Regions from separate parts of the Homo sapiens genome. Here region 1 is linked to region 2. The links are contacts of gene promoters, found by promoter capture Hi-C in blood cells and fetal thymus (Javierre and others, 2016). All regions are on one chromosome and are shown on one strand. Each heading gives the region's core, a stretch centred on a gene start or on the middle of the fragment in contact. The rest is flanking DNA. Distances are from core to core; before and after follow the strand shown. Region 1 has its middle 72 kb from the start of FSBP. Region 2 holds the start of CIBAR1-DT (CIBAR1 divergent transcript).

Region 1 (6,961 bases), core at 868-3,367, 670 kb before region 2:
AAGTAGCCAACTAGTAATAAGTAAAAATGGTATTTCTTGGCCCCATGTATATAGACTTCATGCATGAGGCTTTATATACAACTTTTTTTTTTTTTTAAGAGATAGGGTCTCACTATGTTGCTGGACTGAACTAAACTTTCAATATCTATCTTGCATCGTATCCTTTTCAGGCATAAAGTACTTAAAAAACATTGATAAAGGGCAGGTAATTCTGCCTGTCTTTTTAAACAAAAATTTATGTATGTATGTATGTATGTATGTATGTATGTATGTATGTATTTATTTTATTCACATAGTTCCAGCCACTCTGCAACTGCTGCCTGTCTTAACTGTGGTGTATGCAAGGGTGTGCTGCCCAGATTGCCCCTTTCAGAACCAAGGCGCTTGTTTCTCCAGCTGCCAGAAGCATCACCTGTGGGCCACTTATAGCCAAATTCTTCCCCAAGAATAGCCCTCAGCTGAGAGGATCTGCCTCACCCAAGATTATGCTCCTCCCCTGGTTGGCCAACATTTGAGACTGGTGGATGCTGGGTAGAAAGGCCCAGCACCCTTATCTCAATTCAAGACAAATCTGTCAAAAGGAACATTTCAGCTCCTTAGGTAAGGGTGCTGGGCCCTGTTTTTATAGTGGATACCTATTGTTCTTCATAAAGTTGTTTGTTTGCCAAGTAGTGTGGGAAGTAACCTTCCATCCATTTCTCTGCCTCACTCTGAAATCTTCCAGTATCCTGCATGAGAGTGATTTTGCAGTAGAAATTTCAGAAGAGGCTGAATTTCATGGGAGAACCCATGTGACATGGAATAAAGGTAGCATATGTGGCATGGGATCTCAGAGGCTGAGAAGTACAGAAGATAGCCCTCTGGGAATTGATGAAGACTTTGGACTTTGACAAGCCAGGCATTTGTGGGGGTATAGACTCATTTTATCCACATGTTAAGGGACCTTAACACCTGGTTTGCACGTATAAAGCAGCTTTTGCGTGAGAGGTGCTGTTTATAAGAATTTTCCCTTTCTCTATGTTCCCAGTCCATATGCTCATGTGGTCGCATGCTCTCCCTCTCTCTCTTGGTGGACTCCTTTGAGGATGGGGATTTAATCTTACTTACCCTAATATTCTCAGGACCTTGTATGGGACCTGGCATAGAATAGCTATTTAGTAATTGAATGAATGAATGAGGTACTTTACCTCTTTTACTTCTTTAACCACCTTGATCATGTTTCTTGCTCATAGATCTCAGTTTCAAGGTATTTATTTACGCCAACTGCTGAGCATGGAGCTGTGCTCAACACTGAAGAAAGCAGAGGCAGCAGTTTCTTCTTGCCTCTGACAGCATCCAGACTTCCCTTTTTGTTATTGCGATCTGTCAATCTGCTGCATGAGCTGACAGAAGCTGTCACTGCAATGGGTAATAATTTAAGTCACATACATAATTCATTTCTAATTACACAAATACACCTTTCACACAGCTTTATGTCATAATGTTCTGGTTCTAAACGACAATGCAAATACATTTCAGTCACGTTTTCATTAGGATTGAATTACTAAAGCTGAATTTAAACATGAGCAGCTCTGATCTGCAGAACTAAACTCCTAGACAGCCTATCCATCCATTTAAAAGGGTGTATGACAAAGGAGCAAGTGAAAAAAATCTGGCTGGCATTTCATTTGAGTGGCTCAATTATGGCCTACAGTCACATTGCCTGAGCAACTGTGTCCTAATATTATGTGGCAAGATTAAAATTTTGACTGTGACTCACAGCAAACAATATGTATAATTAGCTTATGGCTTTGTTTTTCTGAATTGTTCCCAAATTAATATATTGTATCCTAGAGGGATTTGTAGATATGCTATTTTGGTATTCAAGGAAGGCTTCAACATGACTTGATAGAAAGGGATATTATTTTGTCTTACCTTGTATGATAAAAACATGTTTTTGGTTTAGACCAGTTTCCTGTGGCACTTTTCTATAGCTAACCTGTGATCTTTGCTTCAAACCATTACAAATTTCTATCCCTAAGATACTGTGTTCACAAAACCAATACCAATTCAGAATACAGCTTTTATGATGTAAAAACTGTAAAAAAAAAAAAAGTACCTTATTGACAGACAATAGTTTATTGGAATTTGTTACACTTACTTGAAAACCTGAAGTGTTCAGTGTGATTTAATCTTTACAATTTTTTTAGATTTATTAAAAATTATTTTTTGTGAGTAAGAAGATAATAAAATTCCAAAGTAGACCAAAATTAACAATTCCTTTATTTTTATTTTTTGAGGAAATGTCAACAAAATACTGAAGACTTTTTTTGAGTAGTTAAAAAAAATATAACATCATAAATGTCTACAGCATAAATTCTGGCCGGGCACGGTGGCTCACACCTGTAATCCCAGCACTTTGGGAGCCGAGGTGGGCAGATCACAAGGTCAAGAGATCGAGACCATCCTGGCCAACATGGTGAAACCCCATCTCTACTAAAAATACAAAAATTAGCTGGACGTGGTGGCACGTGCCTGTAGTCCCAGCTACTTGGGAGGCTGAGGCAGGAGAATCGCTTGAACCCGGGAGGCAGAGGTTGCAGTGAGCCGAGATTGTGCCACTGCACTCCAGCCTGGGCTACAGAGCAAGACTCTGTTTAAAAAAAAAAAAAAAAATCCTTTGTACCTGCAATGTATTTATTTTCACGTATTCCTTTTTTTTTTTGAAGTAGAGATGGGATCGTGCTGTGTTGCCTAGGTTGGTCTCAAACTCCTGCCTCTGCCTCCCAAAATATTGGTATTACAGGTGTGAGCCACTGTACCCATTCCCTGTTTTATTATTAAAAATTTCATCTCTGGAGGTATGCATAGTTTATATAGTAATTATAGATCAAGTTAGAATTTGAAATTGGGAGTTAAAATCCTTCCTGAGTATTTATTTCTGGATGTGTCTGCGAGAGTGTTTCTAGAAGAGACTAGCCTTTACCTATAGAAGAGATTTGCTTTATCAACATTGGTTTGTATCATCCAATCTTTTGAGGACCTGAATAGAGCGAAAAGGCAGGGAGGGTAAATTTACTTTCTGTTTGAGCTGGAACATCCATCTTCTCCTACCCTCTGACATCGGAGCTCCTAGTTCTCAGGCCTTTGAACTCAGACTGGGACTTACACTATCACCCGTGTCTTTGTCCATTTGAGGTGCTATAGCAAAATACCATAAACTGGATAGCTCATAAACAACAGAAATTTGTTTCTTACAGTTCTGGAGCGGGGGTAGTCCACGAACAAGGCACCAGCAGAGCCAGTGTCTGGTGAGGGCCTGCTCTCTGTTTCATAGATAGCACTGTGTAGCTGTTACCTCACATGGTGGAAGGGACAAGGAGTCTCTCTTGGGCCTCTTTTATAAAGGCATTAATTCCATTCATGAGGACTCTGCCCTCATGACCTGATCACCTCCCCAAGACCCCACCTCCTAATATCACATTGGTAATATGGTTTCAACATGAATTTGGGAAGGACACAAACATTCAGACTATAGCAACCCCTTATCCCCTTCTCAGGCCTTCAGACTCAGACTGGGACAGCAGATTTTGGGACTTCTTGCCTTCTATAATTATGCGAGTCTATTCCCATAATAACTCTCTATATATCTATTTATCTCTGGACAATTCTGACCAATACAGATGTATACCATTGTTTAGCATCTGAATGGAACAAAATTACAACTGCTACATTTGTTTAAAGAAAATCTATAGGAATGTCAATCTAATGCTTCTGTCTCTTACATAAATATAATGATGCTAAGTAAAAGTTTAGTATTTATAAACCTCTGTTTATTATGTATGCAGTATAGCCATTATGGACTAATATAAATAAATGAGATAAGATAGGATCAATGATTTTCTGAAGCAGACCAAAATGAACACGTGAAAATCAGGTGCTTGAAACATGTGATAATCTACATTTATTTAGCTCTTTACAGATAAGTGGTTTGCTCCTCACAACAATGCTGAGAGTTGAACAGAGCAAATACTCTATTATCTCCGTTTTATAGATTTAAGGCTTACAGAGATTAAATAATTATTCAAGATCATTCAGTGACAGAGCTGAAACTTGAACACCAGCCCCTCTTTTAACTCAAAATCTGAAGCTCTTTCCAGTGCACTGTCCTGCCTTTTCTATGATTTCACCATGCCAGGTTCCTGAGACAGATGTATATGTGAGAAGAAAAATGAACTAATGTGAGTGTTTCATATCATGTTCTCTTTTCAAGTGAATTAATTAAAGAATTGGGTTTTGGATTAGGGTGTGTGAATTTCATGAGATCTGAATCTTATGTTTATCCTTTCACAGAACAATAGACATGGTATTTTACAATTGAAGCAGTTGATTTGATTGACCACCCTTTCTGCTCAGATTGCTCAAACTGACAACTCACAAGACAAAAACACAAGGTCACAAGACACTGTGGGCTGCATCCAGCTTTAGGTTTACTTATCTTTAAGAAAGCATACACAGCAGGCAACGAGAAAGCATGGATTGCAAAAGCAGAGTGGAACTCTTATGAGTCCAGGCTAGGCTTCCAAATGTCTCAGTCTCTCTGTACCGAGGATACATGTGGTCATGTGAGACAAGACTGAGTGTGTGTAGAAAACCACCATTAGTGGGAGCCATCAGCTCTGGGATTCCTTCAGCTTTCATACTTTGTTAAGGTGGGAAACAAAAAGTACATATGGAGGTCAAAATATCCCTTTCATTTTTGGTAATAGCTTACTTGATTGGCTTGGCTTTACATCTGTTACCCAAGTGGGTTGTTAATACTGAGCTCTGTCCTACCCATGAGGAAATGTTTCCCAGGTAAGCTTCAGGGTTCGGAGGCACAGAAGAAGCTTGTGTTTTTTGTTTTCTTATTGTTGCTATTTTTGAGATAGGATCTTGCTGTGTTGCCCCGGCTGGAGTTCAGTGGCACTATCGTAGCTCACTGCAGCCTCGAACTTCTAGGCTCAAGCTATCTTCCCACCTTAGTCTCCCTAGTAGCTGGGACAATAGGCATGTGCCACAATGCTTGACTAATTTTATTTTATTTTTTGTAGAGACAGGGTCTCGCTATCTTTCCAGGGCTGGTCTTGAACTCCTAGCCTCAAGCAGTCCAGCCACCTTGGTGTCCCAGAATGCTGGGATTACAGCCAAAAATCACTGCACCCTGCCTTGAGAGCTTGTGTTTTCTACACGCAAACTCATTTCCAGGAGGAAGAAGGTGGAGATATTTCCATTTTTTTTTTTTGCAGTTTTTTTAAATTGAGGTAAAATTCACATATTATAAATCATAATTAAAAATAATTTATTGAGGTGAAGTTTATATGGCATAAAATTGATTATTTTAAAGTGTACAATTCAGTAGAATTTAGTACATTCACAGTGTTGTTTAGCCATCACCACTGTCTTATTCCAGAACATTTTCATCACCCCCAAAAGAAACCCCATACCTGTAAGCATTTACTCCTAGTTCTAGGATGAACTGTGACCATTGTGGTCCCTTTCATCTTCTGCTCTAAAACAGCAGCAAGGGAAGGAGGGTAACTGAACTTTTGAGGTTCTTTAGAGGTTGTTCCTCAGGGCCATGAAAGTAGGGTTGGGATGGGGAGTGACAGTGCACTGAGCAAGGTTCTAGTGGGTCCTTTATCCCACCTGCTGGTTGTCAACAAAGGGTTCCAGTGACTTCTACTGCAGGCCTATTTTAACTTTCCATTTGTATTAGGGTTCTTCAGAGAAACAGAAACAATATGAGATCTCTCTCTATATATCTATATCTCTCTATATCTATCTCTATACATCTATCTGTCTGTCTGTCTATCTATATATATATACTTAGAAATTTATTTGTTTTAAGAAATTGGCTAAAGGGATTGTAGGGGCTGGCAAGTCGAAAATCTGTAGGGTAAGCCAGCAGGCTGGAAACTCAGGCAGAATTTCCATGTTGCAGTTTTGAGGAATTCCTTCTTCTTTTGGAAACCTCAGTCTTTGCTTTTATTGCTTTCAGCTGATTGAATGAGGCCCACTCACATTATAGAGGGTAATCTGCTTTACTTAAAGAAAACTTAGTGTAAATGTTAACCACATCCACAAATACCTGTACAGCAACCTCTAGACTAGTGTTTGACCAAACAACTGGGCACCATAGTCTAGCTAGGTTGACATAAAATTAACCATCACATCATTTACTCTTATTTATTTTATTTTAAATTAATAGCAGCTGTGTAGCACTCATTGCCTGCCAGGGACTTTTCTAAGTGCTTTATGAATATTCATTTAATATATTTATGCTTATTAACAAGGATCCATTATATGTACATGAATACAAATCTTAGTGTATAAATATAAGTTCATGACTTGTTAGTATGGTTTGCCAAATGCTTGTTTTTTCCTCTTATTTATATACCTTTTGTTCATGCTTAATCTCAGTCACTAAACCTTTTTATTTGGACTTATTTCTCTGGGTATCCTCTAATCACTTTTTCCTGGGCTGTGCCTTTTCCCCCAGCATTCTTGGACTCCCTGCTGCTATTTTGTGGCTGTAATTGTCAGAAAACCTGTAATACAGGGGCTTAAGTAAGGCAGAAGTTTATTTCTCAGGTGAAAGTCTGGGTCGGCAGTCTGGGCTGGTGTAATTTCAGTCGCTGGGGACCCCAGCTCCTAGCTTGTTGTGGCTCCCCAGTCCCTATTATGCAGCTTCCACCTTGTGGTATACACTGGATCCAGTAATCATATTTGCATTTCAGCCAACAGGAAAGAGAAGGAGAAGACTTCCTCTTAAGGGCTTATTCTCAAAATTGCATACCACATTTTCATTTACATCCCATTGATCAAATTAACCACACGTCAAGGTGGAGATATTCTTGATAAATTTACCAGTCAGAGAGGTCACTATCTCCCAAGGGGAAGGGTGAAACAGGTTGCAAAGGGAGGCCAGGAGTTAAATAAA
Region 2 (6,295 bases), core at 1,629-4,128:
AGCACAGTAATGGATACTTTGCATATATTATCTCTGAACTGTAATAGCTCAACTTTTCAGAAAAGAAAATCAAAGCTGAAAGACAGAGCATCTTGGAAACATTTAAAGCAACATAACCTTGAAAAGCAAAAAAGCTTAGAGATCACTGTATTTGCTGCATTTTTTTTTCTGAGAAGCCATTTGTGAATTATCGAAGCCTACAGAACAAGATAAATGGTCTGAGTTGCTGAGCTGTCAAACTGTATGTTTCATCTCTGTTTCATTTAGAATTAAATAGTTTTTCTTAAACGTTACAGGTTTTTAAATCACATTTTGAGTAATTACTTCTTTTACAAGTAGTACTAGTGGAAGGCACTGAAGAGAGATTTTTTTTAAGGCAAGTATTTAAATATAGCATAAGAAAAATAACTCTTGGACATTAAAATTTTTTTTCTCAAGATAGGTGATGTATTCAATTGCTTAAAATGAACATTTTTTAATAGCAGGAAAAGGGCTTTTTAATGATACATATTTATATAATTGACAAATACACTTAATTTCATATTGATTTTTCTTTAGTTTCTGTAAATGAAATGTATATGAATGTTTCATTTTAAAACATGTTAGGAAAATAAAAATCGACTTCTCATCAAGTATTCAAATATTAGGAATCCTAAAATCATGGATATTCAGGACAGTTTGCTTTACACCATTTCTTATAATCCATACTGATTATTCAGTTTAAGGATTATCTAAGTCTTTTTTCTGTTCTCCTTTTTGTTGCCTACCTTTTTGTCATTGTTCATTAGGACCTCCACCATTTGGTAAGCAAGGGAAATAAAAGGAGAACAAATGCAAATCAATTCACTTTGCTATTTGATAAATAGCACAAAGGTTTTCTACAAAGGGGCATTGAAATTATTGGCTAAAATAAGATTTTAGGATTACCTGTGAATATAAATTATCTTTGAAACATTAAGTCCCCAGTTATCATATATAATTGAGAGTTACTTGTTTATTACAGAAGTTTCATGACAAGAACTCCACATTTTTCCAAAAGTACCTCCAAATATGATTACTCTTCAAATTTGTATGGATAGCAATGATGAGTTCAATTTTTTTTATACTCATTCTGTTTTTTGAAAATTGAAATTCCCGTTTTAGGTTCTGAAAAGTATAAAAAAGCAACGCAGTTCTAACTGGGCAACTTCTGATAAGTTAACCTATGCCGTGAAACTGAAAATAAATACAAGTAAAAGTGCTTATTAAGTATTTAAAGGAAAAATATGGGCTTTTAGAAAGAAAACAATCACAAGGACACTTCTCCTGCTACCCAGAGCAAAAAGTCCACACGGTGTCTCAGTATTGGTTTGCTTCCATGATACAATTCATAGCATTTTGTTGTTGTTAGTAAACCATTGGTCAATTTTCCAAACCATGGATGCAGCAATGATGTCTTACCCATTTATTAATAATTTATCCATCCACATTACCATTCCCAACATTTCCATCTCCAGTCATTCTTTAAAACGTACTTATGTGCCACACAAGACATTAAGTTATGCTTATTTTCTTCCCCCTGGGTACTATTCCCACTACCCCCAGTAAACAGCCACCCCTTGGCCAAAAGTTGGCAAATAAAGTGGGGAAATTCAAGACCTCAAGATGCCCTAAAGGTTAGCTTGAAAAGGGTAAAATAAAACACAGAACGCTTCTCTTTAATAGACTCACACAGTCTTATGAAAATGTACGTTTTATCAAGTTTGCATCCACCTCTGCAGTTAGGTAGATTACAAGTGAAAGTTTCCACGGTTCCTTCATCCACTACTTCATGGCTCATTCATAACAATGACACTGTGATCTCACTCCATACCTCTGCTTGTCGATAATCCTGAAGTTTGGCAAACTCATCTGCAAAGTTCATCAGGCCCAGCTTTAAATGCGGGGTCTCTGTAGCAGCATACGCGTTAATTTCATTCACCAGGAGGTCTGCTTTGTCTCTCAGCCTGGCAGTTTTCCGCACATAGGCAGCGAAGATTTGGCACAGTTCTCCAAAATGCTTCTCCACATTTGAGACAGCTGTTTGCAGTTGTTTCGTTTGAGCGTTCCTAGGGAAAAGGTGACACAAAAGGCAAAACATTCTCGTTAGAGATGAGAAGGCTTCACGTTAATTTAACATGCAAACATTCCCCGGGCATTCTGCAGCTTTGAAGGCGTAAACCCATCAACGACCCAGCGTCTCCCGGCGCGGACTGCTCTCCATGGGGTCCTGACCTCACTATCCGGACTGTGTAGGCACAGGAAAAGGCCCAGGCCGGGTGGGCCTGGCCTTAACTGGGGAGGTGGCTGCTCCGGCTGCTCCGCGCAGCGCGGCCTGGGCGCCCGGCTGCCTCCTAGGCTTCCGCACTGCCCGCGGCAGTGTGGGGACCCGAGACCCGGTGGCGTGGGTGGGTGGCAGCCGGCCGGGCCCCGGGCTCCTCTTCGCCGCCGGCGGTGGCTGCAGCCCAAGGAATTAGGCCCCAGGTCACAGCGGGGACCGTGCAGCCTCCCACTCAGGGTCGGAATTCGGCGCAGAGGCCCCATGGACAGAGGCTTCCACTTCCCTCACCCCAGCCCTCCAGTGTGGGCGGCCCTGGGCAGCTGGGCTCGGGCTGTTACCGGTTTTCCAGGGTGCGCCTCATCATGCTGCCTCGCGCACGGCCGGGGACCTTGCGGGGGCCCAAGGACGGGGATTCCAAGGCGCCTGGGCGCGCGCTGGGGCGCAAGCAGCCGCCGGGAGCCTGAAAGCCCGCCCCTCGCGCCGCCGCGGCAGGCCGGGCGTTTCTATGGAAACGGGGCGCGCGCCCCCGCGGTCAATGCCCGAGGCAGCCTGAGCGCGGCTGGGGCTCGGAAAGCGCCAAGCAGGCAGGGACCGAGAGGGGTGATGGCGCGCCCACCCCTGCAGAGCCGCCTGCGCGGTTGTCCCGCGCGTCCCTGCCGGCGAAGGCTGTGAGAAGCACCGCGGGGCTACGGCGCCTCCATCCTCTCTAACAGCCGCGCTTACCAGACAGCCAGCCTCCAGCGCTGCTAGGCTACTCCGAGCAGGGGAGAAAAGACGCCGGTCCGCCGGGGACCAGGAGGGAGACGTGAAACCAGAGGCCCGGGGGCCCCCTCTCCGCCTGTGCGACTTGTAGTCTCGTACCAGACGCGTCCGCTTCACTGCTGAATCTGAAAACGTGGGCTCTTGAGAGCTGCCCTTGGAAGGAGCTGTGCTTTCTGCCTCATCTTTAACTTTTCGTTTATTCAGCAAATATGTATCAAGTTCCGACTTCGTGGAAGAGATTGTGTTAGACACTGGGAGTAATAGAAACATAATTAAGAAGCAGGGGTCCCGGACCTGAAGGGCCTGAGCGTCGGGTAAGGAGGCAACGCTTACACCGAACCTGTGCTGAGATAAATAACGAACAGTTCTGGCTCTTAGAGTTGGCCTGGGGGAACAAAAATTCAAAAAGAATAAAACCCCAAACAAACAGGAGGCTCTCCTTTGTCCTTTGAACGCCTCTGTCCCTTTGACCCTCCTGGCCTTGCGTGTGCTGCTTTTCCCAGTAAATACTGCAAGGACTCTATTCAGACTTTGTTTATTTATATATGTATTTTAGATGGAGTCTCGCTCTGTTGCCCAGGCTGGAGTGTAGTGGCACAATCTCGGCTCACTGCAACCTCCGCCTCCTGGGTTCAAGCGATTCTCCTGCCTCAGGCTCTCAAATAGCTGGGATTACAGGCGTGCACCACTATGCTGGCCTGATTTTTTGTATTTTTAGTAGAGACGGGGTTTCGCCATGTTGGCCAGGCTGGTCTTGAACTCTTGGCCTCAAGTGATCCGCCCCCCTTCAGCCTCCCAAAGTGCTGGGATTCCAGGCGTGAGCCACCGGGCCCGGCCTCAATTCAGACTTTATCTGCTTCAAGAAACCTCTCTGGGATCCTCCGTCACTTCACTTTTTCAGGCAGCGTTAGGGCCTTGTCCTAACGCTTTGGGACGGGGTCCTAATACTGTCTGAAGGAGCGAAGTGTTGGAATGCTCAAACAGTACACTTCGTTGATTTTGTACTGCCTCCTGTACCCTAGACTTTGAACCCTTTGAGACAGATTAAATGTGATTTTGGTCTTGTATTCCTCGCTGCCGTGTGCTGCTGATTAAAAGTTTTTATTTTGTACAAATAGATGTCCTCAGTCCTTTGTTTTGAACTTCCCCTATTCGCTTGTGTTACAATGTGTATCTCTCTTTGCTCCTTGCATTCGCTCAGCATGTTATTGGTTGGATGCCTGGTGTGTTCCAGGTATTATGCTTGGCTTTGAGGTTGGCACAGTAACCTAAGGTCAGAATAGTCTGTGCTTTTAGAGAGCTCACAGTTATGTGGCAGTGATAGAAGCTAATCAAAGATGTGTAAAATTGCCACTGAGGTATGTGCTACTGTATCCACTTTTGCAGTGTAACAAATCACCACAAAACTTAGTGACGTTTTACAATCGTTTGGTTAGCTTGGGATTCTGAGTGAGCTGGGTGGTTCTTTTACCTTGGTTCTGCTCAGCTGGGCTCTTACTCACCTTTCTGGTCAGCTGGCGGCTGGATGATCTAAGAGGCCTCACTTCTGTGTCACGGCATTGGCAGGTCGTCAGCAGGGGCCACGTGTTTCTTATTGTCTAGCACCTCAGCCAGGCTTCTTTCCATGGTTTCAGAGTTCCAAAACAGTGGAGCAGGACAAGTCAACTGCACAAGTGCCTTTCAAGTCTCTGCCTATGTTATGTTTGCTGATACACTATTGGCGGATGCAAGCCATGTGGCCTAGACTAGAGGGATCAGAGTGAGAGGGCAGTGGAAATGTTACGGATGGTGTGGTTGGTAGAGGAATTGGTGGCTACTTTTCCAGTCTACTATTAGGGGAAACTACATGGCAGCAATTGAGTGTATACTTAATATAGAGGTTTGGTTTGAACTCATCAGGGAAGGACTTCATTGAGAAAGTGACATTTGAGCTGAGATCCAAAGAATAGGAAGGAGTCAACTAGGTGAAGAGGGAGTGAAAAACAGTCCCAAGAGAAGGACAGTATGAGCAGTTTGTCCCCTTGCCCTCCCCCAGCCCCATTCCCATCTCTACCCAGAATTTCATATCTCAGAAAATGATGCTATTGCCCAGTTGATTGTTCAAGTCAAAAACTTAGGAGTTACCCTTTCTTTTCTCCAGTCACATGGGCAATTCCTATCTGTTCCATCTCCAAAATATATCCTGAATCATTCTTCATTTTTTTCTACATCCCCATAATCCAAACTGCTACCACCAATCATCCTTACTGCAAACCTCCCTTACTAGTCTCCCCATGTCCACTGTTAAACATCGCAGTGTGAAATCAAACATTAAATCAGATGATGTCAACCCTCCAAAGCCTCTCAGTGTGCTTCAAATAAAAATTTAAATCCTATTCTGGCTATTAAGGCTTTATCTCATTTCCGCTTACCTATCTACCTTCTCTTGCTGCCCCACTGTGCTATAGACACATGCCATATGTGTGTGTGTGTGTGTGTGTGTGTGTATATATATATACACACACACACACACACATATATATGTATATAAGCTTCTCTCTCTCTCTCTGTGTTTATCTATAGATAAACTTATCTCACAGTTAGTTCTGTGTTTGTAATTCTCTCTGCCTGGAATGCTCCTTCTTCAAGTCCTCACATGGATGGCCCCTTCATATAAAATTGTACTTAAAAAACACCTATGAGTGGGGCTTTCTCTGATCACCAAATGATTCTTTCACCCTGTTTTGTTTCCTTTGAAGCACATGTCACGTCCTGAAATTAACCTGTTTATTTACATGCTATTTCTGTCTTCTCCCATCCACGTACTAACCGGGCTGGACCTCACTTAGCTTCCAAGATCAGGCATGTTCAGGTATGGCTGTAGATCTATTTCTGTCTTCTGTGACTAGAACATATTCTCCATGAAACTAGCCACATTGTTACCTGTTCACTTTATATTCCCAGTACAACCTCAGTGCTTGACTCATAGTAGAAATTCAATAATTAGTTGAGTTTATCAATGAATAAATAAATAAATGAGTGAAAACCCCATGACAGAGGAAACACAGTATGTGTGAGGACATGGAAGAAAGCTGATGAGGGTGGAGTGGAGGAGGTGGCATCATGTTCTGTCTGAGATTTAGTTGGAGGGGTAGATGGAAACCAGGTCGTATAGGGCATTTTGGCCATGCTAAGGAGTGTAGAGATTGGTTCTTGTATTAGTCAAGGTTCTTTAGAGAAACAGAACTAATAGTC

The links. Contacts are between HindIII fragments. The CHiCAGO score rates a contact against its expected background, and 5 or more counts as called.
Region 1: a contact is called between a fragment that was not itself captured here and the fragment with the promoter of CIBAR1-DT in region 2, in 3 of 17 cell types (M0 macrophages, M1 macrophages and M2 macrophages). The highest score is 9.8, in M0 macrophages.

What each region holds. Positions count from the first base shown.
Region 1 is chr8:94,361,380-94,368,340 of GRCh38, reverse strand. No RefSeq gene overlaps it. Among named protein-coding and RNA genes, the nearest start is that of FSBP, 72 kb to the left of the region's middle. The HindIII fragment of the contact is 5,452 bases long and covers 1-4,843 here.
Region 2 is chr8:93,697,016-93,703,310 of GRCh38, reverse strand. It overlaps CIBAR1-DT (CIBAR1 divergent transcript), which reads left to right and starts at 2,878. Exons shown (of 11, transcript NR_033858.1): 1 at 2,878-3,375. It overlaps CIBAR1 (CBY1 interacting BAR domain containing 1), which reads right to left and starts at 2,761. Exons shown (of 9, transcript NM_145269.5): 1 at 2,638-2,761; 2 at 1,853-2,087. The coding sequence starts at 2,663. RefSeq lists silencers at 2,413-2,532, 2,723-2,862, 2,893-2,942 and enhancers at 2,509-3,133, 3,163-3,242. The HindIII fragment of the contact is 5,458 bases long and covers 137-5,594 here.